3 separate regions of the Homo sapiens genome follow, and all the other regions are linked to region 1. Evidence: promoter capture Hi-C in 16 types of primary human blood cells and fetal thymus (Javierre and others, 2016). All regions are on one chromosome and are shown on one strand. The core of a region is centred on a gene start or on the middle of the fragment in contact, and the rest is flanking DNA. Distances in the headings are between cores, read along the strand shown.

Region 1 (5,142 bases), core at 1,546-4,045:
CACTCCCAACGGTGACTCCCGTGAGGTGTTGATGTGCTGCTCGCAGTCACCACTCTCTGCGCCATTGACTCTCGCCATGGGGGCTTTCTTACTCTCAGGCAGAAGGACTCAAAATGAATCCAGAATCTCTTTCTCTTTTATATGGCTCATCTCTGCTATAAGGGAATCACTCCCATCCCCTCGCTCCAGCAAAATCTGGGAACACGGTAGATCCCAACATGGCCACCTCCACTCTGCAGTCACGGGTAACCTGAGCTTATCAGGCGTGTCCAGTCCTTTGTGTTTCTCAACCACCTGGGACCATATTTCAGGCTCCTCAAAATGGCCCCACGCTTGAGGGAAGGGGGTAGAAATTGCCCTCAACCTACTCACAAGACATCTTTCTCAAAAACATAAAAATAAAAAAATCACCAATTCTCATTTTATTCTCTAATTCTTTTTCTTTTTCTCCACAAGAGTCCAAATTGCAATTTTTTTTTTTTTTTTTTTTTTGAGACAGAGTCTTGCTCTGTCACCCAGACTGGAGTGCAGTGGCACAATCTCGGCTCACTACAAGCTCCACCTCCCGGGTTCACGCCATTCTCCTGCCTCAGCCTCCCAAGTAGCTGGGACTACAGGCGCCCACCACCACACCCAGCTAATTTTTTGTATTTTTAGTAGAGACAGGGTTTCACCGTGTTAGCCAGGATGGTCTTGATCTCCTGACCTCGTGATCCGCCCGCCTCAGCCTCCCAAAGTGCTGGGATTACAGGCGTGAGCCACCGCGCCTGGCCTGCAATTTTTTTTAACATTGAATTTTACACTTGATTTCTTATTTTCAGACAGGGGTCGTGCTGTGTTGCCCAGGCTGGACTTGAACTCCTGGGCCCAAGTGGTTCTCCCCGCTTAGCTTCCCAAATAGCTGGGACTGTTGGCTATCACGCTCAGCTCTAATCCTTTTTAGGATGTGAGATTTATCCTCAATCTAACTGAGAAGTACAAGAGCCGGGGAGTTCTTTTGTAATCATTTCCCGTGTATGTTCTGTACAAGTGGATGTGGCTTTGAAATTTACAGTCTATTATAGTTTGATATTTCAATCCTGAAATGTTAACATCCTTTAACATCCTTTTACACATACACACATAACTTTGTTTTGTATGCTTTGTATGTTTTACATAATGGGATCATCTTATACCTGCCTTTTAACTTTTCTTTTTCTTTTTCTTTTTCTTTTTCTTTTAATTTTTTTGAGATAGAGTTTTGCTCTGTGGCCCAGGCTGGATTGCAGTGGCATGATCTGGGCTCACTGCAACCTCTGCCTCCTATGTGCATATAATTCTTCTGCCTCAGCCTCTCATGCAGCTGGGACTACAGGTGCATGCCACCACGCCTGGCTAATTTTTGTATTTTTAGTAGAGACAGGGTTTCACCATGTTGACCAGGCTGATCTTGAACTCCTGACCTCAAGTGATCCACCCAACTCAGCCTTCCAAAGTGCTGAGATTACAGGCGTTAGCCACCGCACACGGCTATATATATATATAATATTATTATATAAATATAATTATCTTAATATATAAATATATATTATTATCTTAATATATATAATATATATTATTATCTTAATATATATAATATATTATTATCTTAATATATATTATTATCTTAATATATAATTATATAATAATATACAATATATAATATATATTATATATATAATTGTATATATAATATAATATATAATATATATTATAATATTAATATCATAATATTATATATGATATATAAATATAATAATATATTAATATATATTAAGATAATAATATTAATATATTAATTATATAATTAATATATTATATATAATATAAGATAATTATAATATATAATTGATAATATTGATATATTAATTAATATTATATCTCAATATATAGATATATTATAATTATATTATATAATTAATGTATTAATTAATATTATTATCTTAATATATATTAATATAATATTATTATATTTATATTATATATTATATATTTATATATTAATATAATATTATTATATTTATATTATATATTATATATTTATATATTAATATATAATGTTATATATTATATAATATATAATATTATATATTAATATATAATATTATATATTATATAATATATAAAATTATTATATATTAATATATAATGTTATATATTATATAATATATAAAATATTATATATTATATCATATTATATATATAATTTCATTTAAACTTGTATCTTAGAAATTCTTATCAGTAAGCGTACGTGATTTCATTTATTTATTATTCTTTTGGATACTGGACATAATCAGGTGGCCCCAATTCTTTACACTGGCAGCAAAGATAAGCAAATTCTTCCAGCAGGCCAAATTTGACCCCGCACTTGATGAGCGTGGTGGACACAGAGGGTTTTTTAATAGCATAGGAATGTTTTTTGCTTCCCACCGGACCCACTAGCCTCTAGTGCCACCGATTAATATTACCTTCCTTGAATCAGGAGGAAACCATTTGTGACTTCTCATATGTAAGATCTTCTAAGGGCAGAAACGCAATTGTCTTTGTATTCACTTCCCCGCCCACCCACACCCCTTCCATGGAGAGCCTGCAGCCAAGCTCAAGCTTTCAAAAAGGCGTGAGCTAATTCAATCATCCTTGCCGCTTTTTTGCTCCTCCAGGCTGTAGAGGGCGACAAAAACCGCGGAGGCGCATTGGGGTGGGGGGTGTCTACTGAAGGCCGCTCCCGACGTGCGCGTCTTTACGTAGACGTCGGGGGCGCAGCCGCGCTGTGCGCGGTGACTGGCGGCTGCACTGGCGGCAGCTGGAGGTGTAATAGTGCGGGTAGTGGGTTTGGAGAAGTTCCGAGGCGGCGGTGGCGCCGGTCAGGACAAGGATAGCGGAACCGGGCCCTGGGCTTGTCGCTCACCATGCCGACAGTAGAGGAGCTTTACCGCAATTATGGCATCCTGGCCGATGCCACGGAGCAAGTGGGCCAGGTGAGTTGAGTCCCCGGGCGGCCTGCAGGGCCTGGCGCTCCGCGGCCTTTCGAAAGCGCTTCCCGCCGCACTCCCCGGGCCGAGCGGGGGCTGCGGCTTCATCCTCCCGGGGCCTCCTAGCCTCCTCAGGCCGTCTCGTCGGGGTGGGCCTCTCTGGGAGTGTAGACTCTGGTTTCACCAGGGAGACCGCGGTCCCCAGGGTTCCAGGCTTCCTTGCCTCCCTTGCCCAGCCTTTTCTCACCGTGGCGTAACCTAACTCAGCCCGTTCAGGCTCACGTTAATTCTTCTCACGGAGCTTTTCTCTACAGGATTCTCTTAAGCCTTTCTCCTTTTCGGTGGAGCTCAGTGCTTCCAAGATTAGATCGGGAGTTTTCTTCATGAGGTCAAGATGTGTTTTTTTTGGGGGGGAGGCAAAATTCTGCTACTAATTGAAGAAGAGTGTTTAGGAGACAGAAGTTTGTGAGAAACAGAAGAGGGACTCTTTGGTCCAGACTTTGATGAGAGCTCACGGTTTCATTTATTCAGTGCATTTTTTTGAGTGCCGAGCGCTGGAGATACAGATGGAAAGGTCCGCGCTCTCCCAGAATGTACAGTTAGGAGGGAGTGTAGTAAGAAAGATAGGCATTGTGAGGCCCGGCTTGGTGGCTCACGCCTGTAATCCGAGCACTTTGGGAGGCCGAGGCGGGCGGATCACGAGGTCAGGAGTTCGAGACCAGCCTGACCCACATGGTGAAACCCTGTCTCTACTAAAAATACAAAAATTAGCCGGGCGTGGTGACACGCGCTTGTAATCCTAGCTACTCAGGAGGCTGAGGTGGGAGGATTGCTTGAACCCGGGAGGCAGAGGTTGCGGTGAGCCGAGATCGCTTCACTGCACTCCAGCCTGGGAGACAAAGCAAGACCCCGTCTCAAAAAAAAAAAAAAAGGTTTTTTTTAAAAATTTATTCTTTTTAATGAAACATGTTTGAAGAAAATAAAACAGGGCTGGGCGAAGGAGAGTGTGAGTGCGCAGCTCTGAATGGAGTTGTCTGGAAGAGCTCTCTTAACGATGCTTGCCCCCGATACACAGTTTCTCAGCAGTGTTGAATTATCCATACAAGTCATTTGTTCCCTGTATGAGTTTTCAAGTACTGGAGTACATTGAACTTGATAAGTGGTTGGGTATGTGTGTTCTTGGGAAAAGAACCAGGCTCTCCTGGAGGTAACCTTGATCATTGTTTTAGAAATCCCACACCATAGCTTTTCAGCGCTTAGAACTTTGTGATTTTTCTGCTTACGCATCCCTTCTTGGAGAAAGTGGAAGATTCTAGTCTATTAACAGTCGTGGGAGTACCTTTCCCGTCCCCTTTTCTTAACATAATTCAAATAGGACTTTTCTGAGCTGAACGAAAAAAAAAAAATTTCATGTTGGAGATTTATTGTAGCTTAATCTAGAATTAAGAATATACCAGTTTGAAATAGCAAATGATTTTTTTTCCTTCATTCCCTGTCAGTAGGGAATTTCACTTTTATCAGTAAGAAATGTATACGGATGTTCTGCTGTACATGTGGATAGAGTGTGTAGGTCGGTTGTGAAGGAGGAATATTCTGTTCATTAAGAAGGTAAAAACTGCCAGGCACGGTGGCTCACGCCTGTAATCCCAATTCTTTAAGGGGCGTGGATGGGCAGATCAGTTGAGATCAGGAGTTCGAGACCAGCCTGGCCAACATGGTGAACCCCCATCTCTACTAAAAATACAAAAATTAGCCAGGCGTGGTGGCATGCGCCTGAAGTCCCAGCTATTTGGGAGGCTGAGGCAGGACAATTGCTTGAACCCGGAGGGTGGAGGTTCCTGTGAGCTGATATCGGGCCACTGCACTCCAGCCTGGGCAACAGAGCAAGACTCCATCTCAAACAAAAAATTAAAAAAAAAAAAAGATACAAACTATGTGTGGTCAATCAGTTTGAATTTGTTGTTCCTAAAAAGAACTAGTAGTGAAGATATTCTCAATCGTATAATTTATCTGTGACTTAGTTGGGTAACTTTGTAGCAAATTGTTCTACCTACGTTAGACTTTGTTGCATATCAGTAGGGGGATAGGGTGAAAGCTACAACAGTGGTTGTGTCAGGAATCCTTCTAAGAAACCTTTGAAACCGTATACATA
Region 2 (5,142 bases), core at 1,337-3,836, about 43 Mb after region 1:
CTTTTGCAAGGTGTGGATGAGGAACAGATATAAACATCTTAACACTGATTTTAAGCAATCTACCTGTCTTACCCTTGCATTCTGTGGCCCCTGATATCTCCAGTTCCTGAGCTTCTCTGATATTTATCTTTCTCTGTAGTACCTGAGTTTGATCTTCCACGCCTCTGCTAAGTCATTTGCCTTTCTTTTATCTACTTTCCATTGATATCTGTTGTGACTTGGGGTTACAGATATCTCCCAGTTCAGGGAAGACAGAGTTTGTGTGTCTATTTGTTGTTCTCCTTGTTTTGTAAAGAAAAATTTTTCAGAGAAGAGAAAAAATATTTTTTTGCTCTCTTCAAGTCAGAATTCAACCTAGAATTGGAAGAAACATAATGGCCAAAATGATAAAATAAATGATCTCATCATTAGGTTAATTAATGAAGAGCTAACACCAGGATTCAGAATCCCTGATACCCTGGCCACAATTAAACTATAACTGGTTCTTACTCCATAGAATCATATAGTTTGAGATGGGGGGGAGTACCTCTGAGGTTTTCAGCCAATTTCCCCAATTTTCCGTAAGTCTCCTCAACAATGTAAGTGGATTTCAGCATTGGTTACAATATCAATGTGAATAGGAGCATTCACTCTATTCCATGACTATCTATTCTTATTTCAGAGAGCTCTGATTATTGGAAAGATTTTTTTCCCTGAAACATTTTTTCACTTCCTCACACTGTATCTAGTTCTGCCCGCAGAAGTTACAAAGAACTACTGTATGTACAAATAATATAGTTTGGTAGCTGGAATACTGGCTACTCTAGAGATATGATACTGTACTCACTGCCTCTAACTCTTTGTACAATCTATAACTAAGACAGTTGACCAGCAAAATGGAGAAAAAGCTCATATCTCACATAACAGAGATTGAGACAATTAATAAACATCATCTGTAATTTATAAAAAAAATTCTAAGCTAGCTAGTTCTCAATCCACTAAATATAAGATTGCTGGGTAGGAGAAGAAATGACTATCAGGTGGGTCATAGAAAGGTTAGTGAAGAAAAGTGAGAGGATGTGTAAGAAATAACCAAGTGAATATTACAGGGAGATAAAACAAGTTGCATAAGCACATACAAATTTAAAAGTAGGAGTTGCTCAGAGAATTCAAAAGTATGGCTAGTGCACAAGGTGGGTATGAAGAAGACATGGAAAATTAGTTAGGAAAGGCAATAATGCTAAATATTAACATTTATTGAGTAAGCTACATTCTGGCCACTATTGAGTACTTTACGTGTAAGAACCCTCAAAACAACTTTATGAGGTAGATACTACTATTACTTCATTTTAAAGATGGGGAAAAGGAGGTATGGGAGTGTTAGGTTAACTTGCCTGAGATTATGTAACTAATAAATGGCAGAGATGGGCTCTGAACCCAGGTAGTGTGGGTGCCTTAATTTATGAAGTGGTCTTCATATGAATGGCCTTTTTATTCTGAAGGTTCTAGGACTTTTTAGATAGTAAGTTGGAAACATTGGTAGATCCTTTCCTACCTCTTCACCTTTGGCACAGCTATCTCAAAGGAGTATCGGTGATAAGATAGGTGATCAGTTTAGGGATCCACAGTGGAGGCCAGAGGACTGTTCCAAACACTGATCCCCCATATATAAACTGAGAACTGGGAAGACAGACCTGCTTTACGGCTGGTGGCCAAGCTCAGATATTTCAAATTGGACAGAGACCCTTTACTATCCTATTCAAGAAGAAAAGGAATTGGAGCTGTGAAAGGGAGAATAAGTATTGGTGGCAATCGGTACTTAATGCCAGTATTTTTTTTTTTTTTTTTGGCTATTGTTTTGTATTTCCTATGAAACTTTTCTGCAGATCCACATAGAAAAAAAATAGACATTTTTACAATAAAACTCCCACTAATTAAGCACAGCCAAGCACTGTTTTAAGTGTTTTATACATATTAGCTCATTTAATCCTCACAGCAACCCTAGGCAATAGGCTCATTATTTGTCTTTTGCAAAGGAGGGGCACTGAAGCACAAAGACATCTACAACTCGTCCACAATTGTACAGCAAATGAATGGGAGAACTAAGTGAAGCTGGAAAGAACTACTATAAATTGTAGACAAGTACAAAACAATTGGTTAAAGATTAATACTTCTGAGACACTGTGTAGCAGAAAGAAACCCGGATTTGGATTAGGACTTGAATTCAGCCTCCAACATTTACTGCTGTGTAAAGATTTGAGGCTGATCACTCCTATAAAATTTGGATTATAATACTTACCTCATAGGGTTTTTGTAAAGATCTAGTGACGTGATTATTGTAAAAGTGCACCGTTAATCTCTCAGATGTCACAGAAACGTTAGAAGCATCTCTTCCCAGGATTGTACATGGAAATGAAGGATCCACAGATTTTGTGGCTATAAAACACCCGGACTACCGATCCCAGTGTGCAAAGCCTCCAGGCTTACCTTCCCGGAAACTGGCGCGGTGCCCTCTGGGACTTGTTCTGGGACTTGTAGTCTTGTACTGGCGCTGGCCCGCCTTTCTTCCTTAGTGGGGAAAACCGGGTGTAAGCCCCGGAAGTACTTGTTGCCTGAGCAGTGGGCTGCTTAGGAAGAGAAGGTCAGAGTTCGCGGGGGCAGAGGCATTCTTGCCGCTGGCCCAGTCACTATGTAGTGGAGGGGCAGACACCCTCCCGCAAATTCTGGAAGGTTCTTAGTCTCGACTAGGGCAGTAGCCCCAGGACTCCTAGTCGCCGGCTTCAGGTCACTGCCGGCTGAACGGAGCTGCCGTCGCCATGTTTGGCTGCTTGGTGGCGGGGAGGCTGGTGAGGATGGGACCGGGTGATATCAGGAAGGGGTCAGGATACCGAGGGCGAAGCCCTACGGCAGGGAGGGTGCGCAGGCGCTAGGGATGCGGGGAAGCCCACTTATTATATTTTGGGTGGGTATGTGAGGATGGAGCGTGGGAAGCTGGGTGCTCTCCTTTGCCCAGCTCTATTCAGATTCTTTCGAATAGTAGTCACAGTATAAGTTGGCATTTATTAAGTGTGCATTTTGTACCAAGTACTGGGCTAAGTGCAATGCACGCCTTTGGTCACTCAGCCTTATGTGTGGCGCTTATTTGGCACTTTGAACTTAATCCTCATAACTCGTGAGATGGTCTTTATCTTTGACATTTTGCAGTTACAGAACTAAGTTCAATCGCCAGTATAAATACCTTCTTTATTAACTTGAGGTAGAGGTGAATTTGGGATTGAATTTGGTCTATAGCAAACTGTTTTTCAAAGATTAAGGTGCTCAGGGAATGTATATCTTTTGGGTCCCTTTGGAAGAACCCGAGTAAAAATAAGCTTAATTTAATTGGAAGTTGGCTGAAACTTAACGTGTGAGCCGTATCTGAGATAACCAGAGAAGGATGCGAGTAGTGTGTTTCCTTATGGGTCAAAATAGATAACTTACCTTGCCAAATTGTTAGAGTAAATGAGAACAGCACCTGGAATTCTTTAGGAATAATCTGGAAGGTGAATCTTGTTTGTTTCCTTAGAAACCACACAGACATCAATTTTCAGGCCTGATTCCTTTCCCCTAGAAGTATTTTTCCTTCTTTTTTCTCCTGGCTTTTTAAAATGTTGCAGTCCCTTTGCTGAATTGTCTTTTTTTCCCATCAAGTTTTGATAATGTATTGTATTCTGTACATATACAGTTCTAAGAAGCCAGAAAGATAAGTTGGAGATGACTAGCCTCATAAAGTTTGTCTCTTGAATGACTGGGAGACCCCTGTGGTGATGGTGGTAATTCATAATCCTGGTGAGATAATTTTGCCCTGCTCTTAATAGGGAAAAAGGACAAACCTGGAATGATTGTGTGACTCAGACGAGTGAGTGTTATTAATGAATGACATTAAAATTGTGTTTCTTAAAGAATAAAAAGCCTATTTGGAATCCATGTATCTCTCACGTTGTCAACTAATTTGGAAGGAAATTTAGTTATGGTAATACCTGCCTCTATATATTGGGGATACTTGGTCCTTTAATTATGGAGTATTAGGACACATCAAAGTGAAGGACAAATAGACCTAGTGGCATCTCAAAACTTAACTACACGACTCTGTTATAAGAAAAATCTACTTATCTAAACTTATGAACCCAGTTTTTATTTCTTAAGATTTTTTTTCTTAAAGAGATACACCTTTTCTTAATGTCAAAAATTAGAGTGTGATGATACAGATTTGCAGACTGTTCAGTACCTATACAAAGTTGACACTTAAGAAATATTTATTTTGCCTGGTGGTTATTTCAAGACTCATAAATAATAATTTCCCATGCTTTTTAGGTTATATGCATGCCAAAGACTGGTGAAATTGAATTTAATACTAATACAGGCCATTTGGTTTGTGTTATTCCTTTGTTTTATTCTTTATACTAAAGCTGGAGGATTTTAAAGTGGGTCAGAATACTTCTGAAGAGGGAATCAGAATTTGACTTTAGGAACACTGCCTTTGTATCTTGAGACTTAATTTAGGGCAGCCAGTTGATACTACTTTATAACTAATAGATAGTTGAAATTACATAGCAGTATATTTTTCCTAAGTTTATTTGTATCGGTAGATAGGATATTATAGAGGGAAAACTTACCTAACACACATATTTTCTCTGTAAGGCATGTCATAGCCTTCTTGCACTTAGGAAGACTAGCCAGCACTTGAACTTGGTCATTTTAAACAGCACGATCACCAACAAAAATCACAAAAATGCTTTAAATAGATGAGACTGTGAAAAGGACACTTTTTCATATTACGAGGACTGAAACAAGATGGCATGTTCTACCTCAGCTGCCAGTGTGTGAGTTGCACAACTCACTTTTTTTTTTTTTTTTTTTTTTGAGACGGAGTCTTACTCTGTCAGCCAGGCTGGAGTGCAATGGTGTGATCTCTGCTCATCGCAACCTCCGCCTCCAGGTTCAAGCAATTCTCATGCCTCAGCCTCCTGAGTAGCTGAGACTACAGGCATGTGCCCCCATGCCCAGCTAATTTTTATATTTTTAGTAGATACTACGTTTCGCCATGTTGGCCAGGCTGATCTGGAACTCCTGACCTCAGGTGATCAACCCGCCTTGGCCTCCCAAAGTGCTGGGATTACAGGC
Region 3 (5,142 bases), core at 708-3,207, about 27 Mb before region 1:
GTGAACTGTAGTCGAAACTGCAAAACTCTGTAACTTAAATGTAATTTCATTGTAACTAATAGAACCTAAGTAGAATTATGTAGTAGTGAAAATATTTTAATTCTAGCAAAAAGCAATCAACCACTTCCTAAAACAATGTTTCTTTTTTTTCTCTTGGGTTTACTCTCCTCCTCCTTTATGATTTATTCTTACCACAGAACCATTAAGATGTTCTTTGTTTGGTTATACTTATAAAATGTAACCCTGACATCTCTTTTTCTATTATAGTACTTACTATTATGCTATTTTTCTGCTTCCAAAATAAGGGAGAATTTGAATCTATGACTGCATAAATTTAAAAACTACCTTCCACTGGTCACAGTTCAGTGAGGATCTGAAATCTAGGTAAGTAATATTTGTACACAGGCAGTGAAACTAGAGCAATTGCTGAGTTCAAAAGCTAATAGCTAAGCATTGTTTCACAGACTGCTCTCAGTTCTGAAACAGCAGATATGTATTATCCATACCACTTATTATTTATTTATTTATTTATTTAGAGACCGAGTCTCGTTCTGTCACCCAGGCTGGAGTGCAGTGGCGCCATCTTGGGTCGCTGAAACCTCCGCCTCCCGGGTTCAAGCGATTCTCCTGCCTCAGCCTCCCGAGTAGCTGGGATTAGAGGCATGTGCCATCATGCCAGGCTAATTTTTGTATTTTTAGTAGAGACGTGGTTTCACCATGTTGATCAGGCTGGTCTCGAACTCCTGACCTCGTGATCCACCCGCCTCAGCCTCCCAAAATGCTGGGGATTACAGGCCTGAGCCATGGCGCCAGGCCTAATTTTTGCTTAAAAAAAAAAAAAATCACATTTGTATTCAAGGTGAGAAAGCTTCAGAATTATTAAGGACAAGGATTCTGACAGAAAGTTAAGTTCAGACCTGGTTACAAATTCAGACACCTTAATAAAGTAGGAGATAGTCTTCAGTATCTGAACAATAAATAGCTTTAAATGCAGGGCTTTTTGAGTAGAGGAGTGATCACTTGAATCTGGAGAGAGGGCGAGAAATGGGGAGGGATTGCTAACGGGCATTGGGGTTCCTTTTGGAGTGGTGAAACTTCTTGGAATCAGAGGTGACAGCTGCACACGATTGTGAATGTACTAAGTGACAGTGGATTGTACACTTTTTAAAAAATGGTTAATTTTATATGTGAATTTAACCTCAATAATTACTTTTTTTAAAAAAGAAAAAAAATAGAGGCTTTTGTGGCAGGGATGGACTTTGCTTGGTGAAGGCCCCTACTGTAACGGTGCCCAGACATCCACAGCGAGGTCAGTGAGGAGCACTCCCACCTCACACAAAGCCATATGAAAACTTAACAGATTTCCCTCAGCTAAATCCCCGTTTTCAACAACCGCCAATTAGCCAACATTTAACAACATACTGAACTCATTTCTGTATGGGAAAACAGCGAAATATTCATGAAAACATTTAGAAAGCAGCATCACCGACCACCTAGAAATCCCCTGCGCGCAATAGAGAACACCAGGGTGGAAATGGTAGAAGCCATTTTTGGTTAAGGTTTTTGTCCTGGGTGGAGGGTATTCGTGAGGATTCAGTCAGCCTCAAACATTACATTTAAACATAGGTGCCTAGCTACGATGATACATTTGCCAGTAGGGCAGCGTTGCACGGTGAAAGGCAAAAACCCCTCTAAGCCTCCTCCTGTGGCGACAAAGCTCTCGGCCAACGCTCACCGCCATACACATCCGCGGGAACGCTTCCTCCACCAGCCGAAGGCGGGGCCTCTGAGGGCACTCCCGCCACACAGCGCGAATTGAGCCTCGGGGCTTCCTGGGAATTGTAGTTTTAGTCACGGACACATCTTTTTTATTCGGGCCAGTATGCAATGAATCAGAAAACTACAACTCCCAAAGTGCCCCGGGGCGGCGAGGGGCCGCAACGGTGACGACTGTGGCAGAGAAGGCCCGGAGGGGCTCTGCGTTCTGTAGTGGCGCTGCTTGGGCCCTTGGCGGATTGTAAGCTGCTGGTTTTGCGGCTGGGAAGAGCGGCGAGAGGGTTCGGCATTTTTCGTCGGGATCCCCGCAAGGATGAGTGCTGCCAGAGAGTCTCACCCGCATGGGGTGAAGCGTTCAGCCTCCCCAGACGACGATGTAAATAATAATGGCGGAGTGGCTGAGGGTTGAGGCCTACTAAAGCCTGGAGTAGGCCGGGAAGGGTGGTTGGAGGAGGACGCGCCTGAGGTGGCCTGCAGCGGGAGAGCCCAGGGAAGAAACCAGAAGAATGAGTGGGAAATGCCTCCCTTAATCTTTATGAGGGTCAGAAGGTTTGAAGAGGCCCACACGCTGAGAGCCGGAGACCTGCGTAGGAAGGGGGATTGAGGAAGGAAATTCTGAGAGGGTCGAGGAGTGAAAGAGCTTAGTCAAGGGATTTCGTACGTGCGTTTTGGGGGGCCGATGAGAGTGCTTTCTCGGGCCTTTGTACTCAGTATAGAGACGGCAAGACTCTCCCTGTTTTGGGTTCTAAATGTTCCCGTGACAATGTCGAAATGTTCGTGCACGTTTGTACAGATTTTTCCTGCCTGGATGATTTTTACAATGTGCTGTTGAGAGTTAACTTTAGCTGCACTAGTAAGGGTAAACCGAGAACAGTATTGAGCCGAAAATTGTGCCACGGGTGTAATTTGGTACTGGCTCTGGTGGTGAGGTCTAAGACGTTGAGACCTAGAAGCCCATTTTGATGTCGGATATTAATACCTCGTTCTTCTTACCTCGTCTCCCCATCAAATGCCGTTCCCTTCCTCAGCCCTCACCTCATAGGTTTTAATAGCAAACGGTTTATCCCTTAAAGTAACCCGTTAAATATTTACTGCACTGCCGGGTGTTGGGAATTCGGAGAGAAATATGATGCTTATTTTAGGCCTTTTTGTATATTTGTCCTAGCTCCTAGCCCAGTGTCATGGAAACGGTAGGTAACCAGTAAACGTAAAACTAGGTCCTTCATACAATGGATAAGTGTCTTGGCAACGTTGATGGGGAAAATTGTTGGAGAGAGCGCGGAGAGGTCATCTTTAAGGAAGATGAAGGGATATCTAGGTTTTTTTTCGGTTTTGTTTAAAGTACTGTCAATTTCTGAATACATAGAGCTTTAAATTTTTCGATAGTGCATTTCAACGCTCTTCATAAAATTTTAAAAGCCCACTGAATACTACTTTGTAGCAAATGAGATAATGTTAAGACCTACCCCTCTGATGGGAGGTGGGGCGAGGACCGGAATATTAAGGATCTTTAAAGGAATCGACTTCAGCTCTGCAGAAAGATTAGCAATCAGTAAAGATTTGGGGATGAATGGGCACCTAGAGAAGTTTATTCTTGCTCTCTGTTATTTCTGCTACTGGATTTTAGATCTTGTTAATATGGTAATTCAGGTTTTGTCAGGAATTGATCCACACTTTTGAGTAACCTGGCTGCCACTTAAAAAGCTGTTACATTGTTTTCCTCCTGATCTTTAAATGTGACTTGATTGCTAGGATATCAGACACCTGTTTGGAAATATCTTTTAGCGTGACAGAAAACTCCAGGTGATATGAAATTTAACAAAGTTAAAGGGATTAAGTCATTAAGTTTACAGCTTCGGAAGAGGTCGGTTTAAACTAGACGACCTTGAAGACCTTTCCCAATCATATAAGCGTATCTTTAAGTACCTGGGTTTTGTTTTTGTTTTGAGACAGGTGAGACAGGGTCTCTGTCGCCCAGGCTGGAGTGCAGTGGCACGATCGATCAGTGCTCCCTGCAGCCTCCACCTCCCTGGCTCAGGTGATCCTCCTGCTTCAACCCCCTCTTCCCCCACCACCACTACAGTAGCTCGGACTACAGGTGTGCACCATTACACCCGACTAATTTTTTGTATTTTTAGTAGAGACCAGATTTTGCCACATTGCCCAGGCTGGTCTCCAACTACTAGACCCAAGCGATCTGCCCACCTCGGCCTCCCAAAGTGCTGGAATTACAGGTGTGAGCCACCTCGCCCAGCCAGTACTTAAAAAAAAAATTTTTTTAACCATAAGTAATGCATTCATTAAAATACCTCCAAGCTGTTGCAGAAAAAAAAAAAAAAACTAGCAGGCCGGGCGCGGTGGCTCACTCCTGTAATCCCAACACTTTGGGAGGCCAAGGCAGGCGGATCACGAGGTCAGGAGATCCAAACCATCCTGGCTAACACAGTGAAACCCCGCCTCTACTAAAAAAATACAAAAAAATTAACCGGGCGTGGTAGCGGGCGCCTGTAGTCCCAGCTACTAGGGAGGCTGAGGCAGGAGAATGGCGTGAACCCGGGAGGCGGAGCTTGCAGTGAGCCAAGATGGCGCCACTGCACTCCAGCCTGGGCGACAGAGCGAGACTCTGTTTAAAAAAAAAAAAAAAAAAATCTAGTTATAATATATAGTTGGGAAACAGTTTCTAATGAGCATCCACGGTATGTGAGAGATCATTGAAGTTTTCTTATGCCCATTGACCTCACATCTAATTGAGGTAACAAAACATTTTTTTACTATTAAAAGTAGATACTAAATCACAATACAACTCTAGAAAAACGCTAACAATGTAGGAGTAAATTCTAAGAGTCACCAGGTTATGTATTGAGGAGGTAAATTGATTGCAGTTCTGTAGTAAAGGGTATTAAGGATGAAAACAACTTAAAAGTCGTTTCATTGGCTTGGAGTGGAGAAATGAAAGCTATCTTATAGGAAGTGGGAAGAGTGGGGAGGTAAATTTTAGTAACTGCTAAGGAACTCTCTTAAAATGTATAGTGCACCCACGTGCTTTTCAGAATGCAGCATTTGGGCAAGTACTCACTGTTGTACTTTAAGGCAGGGCTCTCCAACCCCTGGGCCACAGAACCAGGCTGCACAGCAGGACGTGAGCTGTGGGCCAGCCAGCAAAGCTTCATCTGTATTTACAGCCACTCCCCTTGGCTTGCATTACCACCTGAGCTCTGCCTCCTGTTGGCATTTGATTCTTATAAGAGCGTGAACCCTGGTGTGAACTGCACATGCGAGTGATCTAGGTTGCACACTCCTTATGAGAATCTAATGCCAGATGATCTGTCATTGTCTCCCATTACCCCCCAGATGGGACTGTCTAGT

The links. The method cuts DNA at HindIII sites, captures the fragments that hold promoters and counts their contacts. A CHiCAGO score of 5 or more calls a contact.
Region 2: the fragment with the promoter of HIKESHI here is called in contact with the fragment with the promoter of API5 in region 1 in 1 of 17 cell types (non-activated CD4 T cells); the score reaches 6.0 in non-activated CD4 T cells.
Region 3: a contact is called between the fragment with the promoter of C11orf58 here and the fragment with the promoter of API5 in region 1, in 1 of 17 cell types (total B cells). The highest score is 13.1, in total B cells.

What each region holds. Positions count from the first base shown.
Region 1 is chr11:43,309,201-43,314,342 of GRCh38, forward strand. API5 (apoptosis inhibitor 5) reads left to right here and starts at 2,796. Exons shown (of 14, transcript NM_001142930.2): 1 at 2,796-2,996. The coding sequence starts at 2,928. RefSeq lists an enhancer at 2,549-3,324. The HindIII fragment of the contact is 11,672 bases long and covers 2,621-5,142 here.
Region 2 is chr11:86,299,654-86,304,795 of GRCh38, forward strand. HIKESHI (heat shock protein nuclear import factor hikeshi) reads left to right here and starts at 2,587. Exons shown (of 5, transcript NM_016401.4): 1 at 2,587-2,825. The coding sequence starts at 2,796. The HindIII fragment of the contact is 4,753 bases long and covers 1-3,348 here.
Region 3 is chr11:16,736,690-16,741,831 of GRCh38, forward strand. It overlaps C11orf58 (chromosome 11 open reading frame 58), which reads left to right and starts at 1,958. Exons shown (of 5, transcript NM_014267.6): 1 at 1,958-2,152. The coding sequence starts at 2,090. It also overlaps a transcript of SOX6 not described here. RefSeq lists an enhancer at 1,832-2,461. The HindIII fragment of the contact is 4,072 bases long and covers 867-4,938 here.